2 separate regions of the Homo sapiens genome follow, and region 1 is linked to region 2. The links are contacts of gene promoters, found by promoter capture Hi-C in human tissues and cell types (Jung and others, 2019). All regions are on one chromosome and are shown on one strand. The core of a region is centred on a gene start or on the middle of the fragment in contact, and the rest is flanking DNA. Distances in the headings are between cores, read along the strand shown. Region 1 overlaps PTPRS (protein tyrosine phosphatase receptor type S). Region 2 holds the start of PRR22 (proline rich 22).

Region 1 (2,700 bases), core at 168-2,667, 470 kb before region 2:
TGTAGCCCACAGCCCCTCCCAGGGCCCTGTCTATGCAGGCCACTCTCTAAGTGCTTGACGCATATTAACTCGTTTTGTTGTGCCAGTTATTTATCTCAGATGGGGAAACTGAGGCTGAGGATAGGATGTGCCTTGTCCAGAGCCAATGGCTTGCTTGTAGCACCTGAAAACCCGCTATGGGCTAAGTCAGGAGCTGCCAACTCCATGTCTCCAGGGAGAACCAGCCCACCACTTCCTGGGAACCTCCGCAGGCGTCCTGCTAATGGGGGCGTTTCCATGCCTGCCTCTCTCACCATCTTCGCCACCTCAGCTCATCTTCTCCGTCTTTACCGATGTTCAGGACAGAGGCCTGGGAGTCGTTCTTGACTCATCTCAACCCTACCCTGCAGCCAACCACTTGGAGAAGCCAGCCAACCCTTCTGCAAAATCCTTCTAGAATACAACCCCTCCTCTGCCCCTGCCTGGTCCACCCCCATCATCCCTGGCCTGGATCTGTGCCGTCCCCTCTGCTCTGGTCCCCCAGCGTCTGCACTCATCCCCCACAGTCTGTCCTTTCTGCAACAGCCAGGGGTCGCCTGTGAACACGTCGGTCAGGGCTGGTTCCTCCTTTGCCCATAGCCCTCCCTGGCTCCCACCTCCCTCAGAGTAAACGCCCAAGTCCTCCTGGTGCCCCACAAGGGCCTGCACAACCTGCTCTGTCCTCTCCCTGCTCTCCCCTCCCCTCCTCCCCCTCCTCACTCTGCTCCAGCCACACAGGCCTCCTCGCTGTTCCTCCAACATGCCAGGTGCGGTCCTGCCTCAGGGCCTTTGCACGGGCTGTGCCCTCTGCCTGGAACACCCTCCCCTCAGATGTCAGCAAACATCATTCTCTTATTCCTGTTGGTCTTACTGAAATGTCACCTCTTCTGTGAGGCCTGTCTTGATTCTGTAGCTAAAACAGCCCCTCCCTGCCACCAACCAATTCCTCTAGCTTTTTTCTTTTCTTTTTTTTTTTTTTTTTGAGATGGAGTCTTACTCTATCACCCAGGCTGGACTGCAGTGGCGCAATCTCGGCTCACTACAACCTCCGCTTCCCCCGTTCAAGCAATTCTCCTGCCTCAGCCTACCGAGTAGCTGGGATTACAGGCGCCCACCACCATACCCAGCTAATTTTTGTATTTTTAGTAGAGACAGGGTTTCACCATGTTGGCCAGGCTGGTTTCAAACTCCTGACCTCAAGTGATCTGCCCACCTCGGCCTCCCAAAGTGCTAAAATTGCAGGCATGAGCCACTGCGCCTGGCCAACTTTATTTTTCTTAAAGGCATGGCATACAGTCAATCCTTAACACATATTTAATCTATTGGCTTTATGGCTTTTGTTTTTTGGGTGTTTCTTGTTTTTGTTTTTTGAGGCAGGGTCTCACTCTGTCACCCAGGCTGGAGTGCAGTGACGCAATCTCAGCTCACTGCAGCCTTGAACTCCTCAGCTCAAGTGATCCTCCCACCTCAGCCTCCTGAGTAGCTGGGACTATAGGCTTGTACCACCACACCCGGCTAATTTTTGTATTTTTATTTATTATTATTATTATGAAACCAAGTCTCACTTTGTCTCCAGACTGGCGTGCAGTGGCGTGATCTCACTGCAACCTCTGCCTCCCTGGTTCAAGCGATTCCCCTGCCTCAGCCTCCCGAGTAGCTGGGACTATAGGTGCATGCCACCACGCCCAGCTAATTTTTTTTATTTAAGTAGAGACGGGGTTTTACCCTGTTGGCCAGGATGGTCTCGATCTCCTGACCTCGTGATCCACCTGACTCGGCCTCCCGAAGTGCTGGGATTACAGGCATGAGCCACTGTGCCCAGCCTTTTGTATTTTTAGTAGAGATGAGATTTCACCATGTTGGCCAGGCTGGTCTCGAACTCCTGACCTCAGGCGATCTGCCCGTCTTGGCCTCCTAAAGTGCTGGGATTATAGGCTGAGCCACTGCGCCCGGCCCCTATTTGTTCATTGTCCTTCTGATGCATTCCACGAGGGAAGGGTTTTTCCCTCTGTCTTCTCCGTCACTCTGTTCCCAACACCTGACCCTGTGAGGATCAGGGCCTGGTATATAGGAGGTGCTCAATAAGTATCCAGTGATGGAGCTCTAGGCCCCCAGCAGGGTCCTGGGCCCAGAAAGGACACGACGGTTGTTTTCTGAACACACAGAAGCTTTCCTTGGGGTCTGAAGGAAAATTTTAGACCTGAAACCATCCCCTGGGTGGAGGCTGGGGGTGGGGATATAAGTATCTTGGGAGCAGCCAAGGAAAGAAAAAGAACATTCCTGTCTCATCAAAGCTGTTCAGGGGAGACCCGAGCTCCCTGGCTGGCGGCTGGGGTGGAGATGGCAGATGCTCTCTGCAGGGTAACTGGGCGAGAGGGAGTGAATATTGAAATGTGCATCCCTTGGGCCGGGTGCGGTGGCTCACGCCTGTAATCCCAGCACTTTGGGAGGCTGAGGTGGGTGGATCACGAGGTCAGGAGATCGAGACCATCCTGGCTAACATGGTGAAACCCCGTCTCTACTAAAAATACAAAAAATTAGCCGGGCGGGGTGGCAGGCACCTGTAGTCCCAGCTACTGGGGAGGCTGAGGCAGGAGAATGGCGTGAACCCGGGAGGCGGAGCTTGCAGTGAGCCGAGATCGTGCGCCACTGCATTCCAGCCTGGGAGACACAGCGAGACTC
Region 2 (2,700 bases), core at 148-2,647:
AGGCGCCTGGCAGGCAGTCGAAGAGCTTCATGGCGTCCTCCAGCAGAACCTTGTCAGGCAGTGCCAAAGCTCTGGCCGTCTTGGGGGCCTTGGCCTTGCCTGCTCCCAGCAGGGCCCCCTCCTTGACCTCGGCCACCTTGAGCTCGCTGAGGCCCGGTGGGTACAGGGGCACCCCAGGTCGGGCCCCACTGCCCTGCAGCTCCTTGACGGGGAAGGCCAGGGGTTCGGGCCCAGGGAAGTGGCCGAGGTGACCCTGGAGGTGGCTGTAGGCGTCTGGGGGCAGTGTGGGCTCTGCAGGCAGCGTGATGAGTACAGGGGGCGGCTTGTTCTCCTTGGGGGGTGGGGGTGGCAGCGGGGCCGGGCCTTCCTCTAGGGGCGGTAGGGGCAGCTCCACGAAGGCGGCGGGCCCTGCGTCCCCCACAAAACCCAGAGCCTCTGGCCCGGGGCCCTCAGGCGGGAAGTAGGGCAAGAGAAACTGGGGCCCCCCGGGTGCCTGCTGGTAGTGGGGGTATGGAGGCAGCCCCGGGGCCTTGAGGTAGGGCTGAGGCTCCAGGAGGTAGCTGCCTGGGGCGGAGGGGACCCCCGCTGGCCCCCCGCTGCTTGCTGCCAGCTTATACAGGGCTGACTGGCCCAGGTCGGGGGTGGTCCACTCGATCCGATAGATGCGGGGGTCGAAGAAGCACCCGCATGGGGCCATCTGGAAACCTGTGGGCGGCAGGCGGGTGCCCTGAGAGCAGCTGCTGCCTGAGGGGCCCAGCCCAAGCCTGGGGGCCTGTTTGGGAGATGCCACAAGAACCTTGCCATTGGGGGGCCCCTTTGGGGGACGACATAGATATTGCTTTGGGGCCCTGGCTGGGTGATGGATGACACAGAGCTTGTCTTTGGGGCTCATCTGGGGGACCTGTGTGAAGCATGGGGAGCAGAGGCCATGCCTTCAGGCTCCCACTTAGGGACGGGGCAGGGGCAAGATGGGCCTGCACACTCAAACCCACTCCCAGCCTCGTCAAGGGCTCAGGGGAGGCCGGTACCTGCTGGTGGGGCTGGAAACACCTCTTTCTCTGGGTCTGGGGGATGATACAGGTTCAAGGAGCCTGTGGACAAAGGTGCCCAGGTGGGTAGGGCCCTTAGGCGGGTGGGCCCCTGAACCCTCTCCAGCAGGTGCTCCCACCCACCCGATCGTACCCATAGCGGGAGGAGGCTCGGCACAGGTGGGAGCAGGCTGGTTGCCCAGCACCTCAGCCCCCTCCAGACTCTGCGGGCTGAAACCTTCCTGGGGAGCTGCAGGGGCACAGAACGGTTTGGGGTGCTGCATGGGGCAGCGGGGGGCCCGGTCCAGACAGGCCAGGAGGGCGGCAGTGGGAGTGCAAGTGGCCCAACCGGAGAACAGGCTGAGAACCTGGTGGGGTTCTGTTTGCCTGGTTACTCGGGGCAGCGGGTTCCAGCCTGCAGCGCGCCCACTGGTTGGGGTTCTGGGTGTTGGGGGCAAGCAGGGGCAGACGTTGGCAGACATGGTCATCACCATGGGAGGGAGGATTCTGGGCCAGGCCTTTGCCTCTTCCAGCAACACCCCCCTAACAGCTTTGAGGCCGCCTCCTCCAGGCAGGCTGCCCTGATCCACACCCACACAGGCTGAGGCCCCCCGGGTCCTCAACCCGCTACCTTCTTGGGGGTCAAGGCCTCTCTGGGCACCAGCAGCACCCAGCTTGGGGCAGGGCCCATGGAGGCAGCTAAGAGGTTTGGGGAAGGTGGGGGCCGAGGAGGGGCTGCTTCAGGGTCACAGAAAGGCCTGGATTTTAAAAGAATAAAATTTATTGTACTCTCCTCGCCCCAGGGTGCCCCTGGGAAAGCCTGAGGCTACTTGTACGCGTTGGCCTTGTGCTTCGGCAAGAAGGCGAAGCTGGGGGGCACTGGCCCAAGGAGCATCTCGCTGTGGGAGAGCAGGTGGAAAGCGAGGTCAGGCCCAGGACCTGCAAAGTACCCTCCGTGACCCCGGGCCCCCGACTGCAGCTCCCCAACTCCAGCCCACCCAGGCACCTGATGCGGATCCAGTCGGCTGCCTTCTGGCTGGCCATCAGCGTCTCCAGGTAGTCGCGGCCCAGGTAGTAGGGCGGCCGCTCGTTGATCCTCTGTGGGAGCCGCTCCAGCAGCCCCACGGGCACGTACCTGCGGCGGGTGGGCGGGCAGGACAGGCTTGAGTCAGCTCTAACCAGCCGCGGCCCACGCGCCGCCCACCCCAGCCAGCCCCGGTGCCCACCGGCACAGGAAGGACAGCCACTCGAGCAGAAAGCGCCGGGTCTTCTCCACGCCCTGCGTGTCCGAGCCCCAGTGCTCCAGGCCGTAGTTGGTGAAGTCCCGCAGGATGTCCAGGCGCTCGGACGACGAGATGTCCCAGTGCCGCTGCTCCTTGATCTCCGTGAAGAGCCACGGCTTGAGCAGGGCGCCACTGTGGGACGGGTGACGATCAGTGGGCCCAGCCACCAGCCTGCCTGGGATCGTGTGGCCTCTGCTTCCATGGCCTGGCCTGAGCCGGAGCCCAGACCACAAAACCTACAAGCCTAGTAAGCCTCCCAGCTGCATGCACACAACCTTCAAAGCACAGGACTTTCTTTTGTTTTTTCTGAGACGGAGTCTGGCTCTGTCGCCCAGGCTGGGGTGCAGTGGTAAGATCTCGGCTCACTGTTCAACCTCCGTCTCCCAGGT

What was found. The method cuts DNA at HindIII sites, captures the fragments that hold promoters and counts their contacts. A contact is called where the count stands out against the background at its distance.
Region 1: a fragment that was not itself captured here is called in contact with the fragment with the promoter of PRR22 in region 2 in 1 of the 25 tissues and cell types used here (dorsolateral prefrontal cortex).

Annotation. Positions count from the first base shown.
Region 1 is chr19:5,309,336-5,312,035 of GRCh38, forward strand. All of the region lies in intron 1 of PTPRS (protein tyrosine phosphatase receptor type S), which reads right to left. Among named protein-coding and RNA genes, the nearest start is that of PTPRS, 30 kb to the right of the region's middle. The HindIII fragment of the contact is 5,079 bases long and covers 1-2,700 here.
Region 2 is chr19:5,783,349-5,786,048 of GRCh38, forward strand. It overlaps PRR22 (proline rich 22), which reads right to left and starts at 1,398. Exons shown (of 3, transcript NM_001134316.2): 1 at 1,183-1,398; 2 at 1,029-1,091; 3 at 1-705. The coding sequence starts at 1,312. It overlaps DUS3L (dihydrouridine synthase 3 like), which reads right to left. Exons shown (of 13, transcript NM_020175.3): 11 at 2,255-2,443; 12 at 2,035-2,163; 13 at 1,792-1,927. The coding sequence ends at 1,855. The HindIII fragment of the contact is 36,623 bases long and covers 1-2,700 here.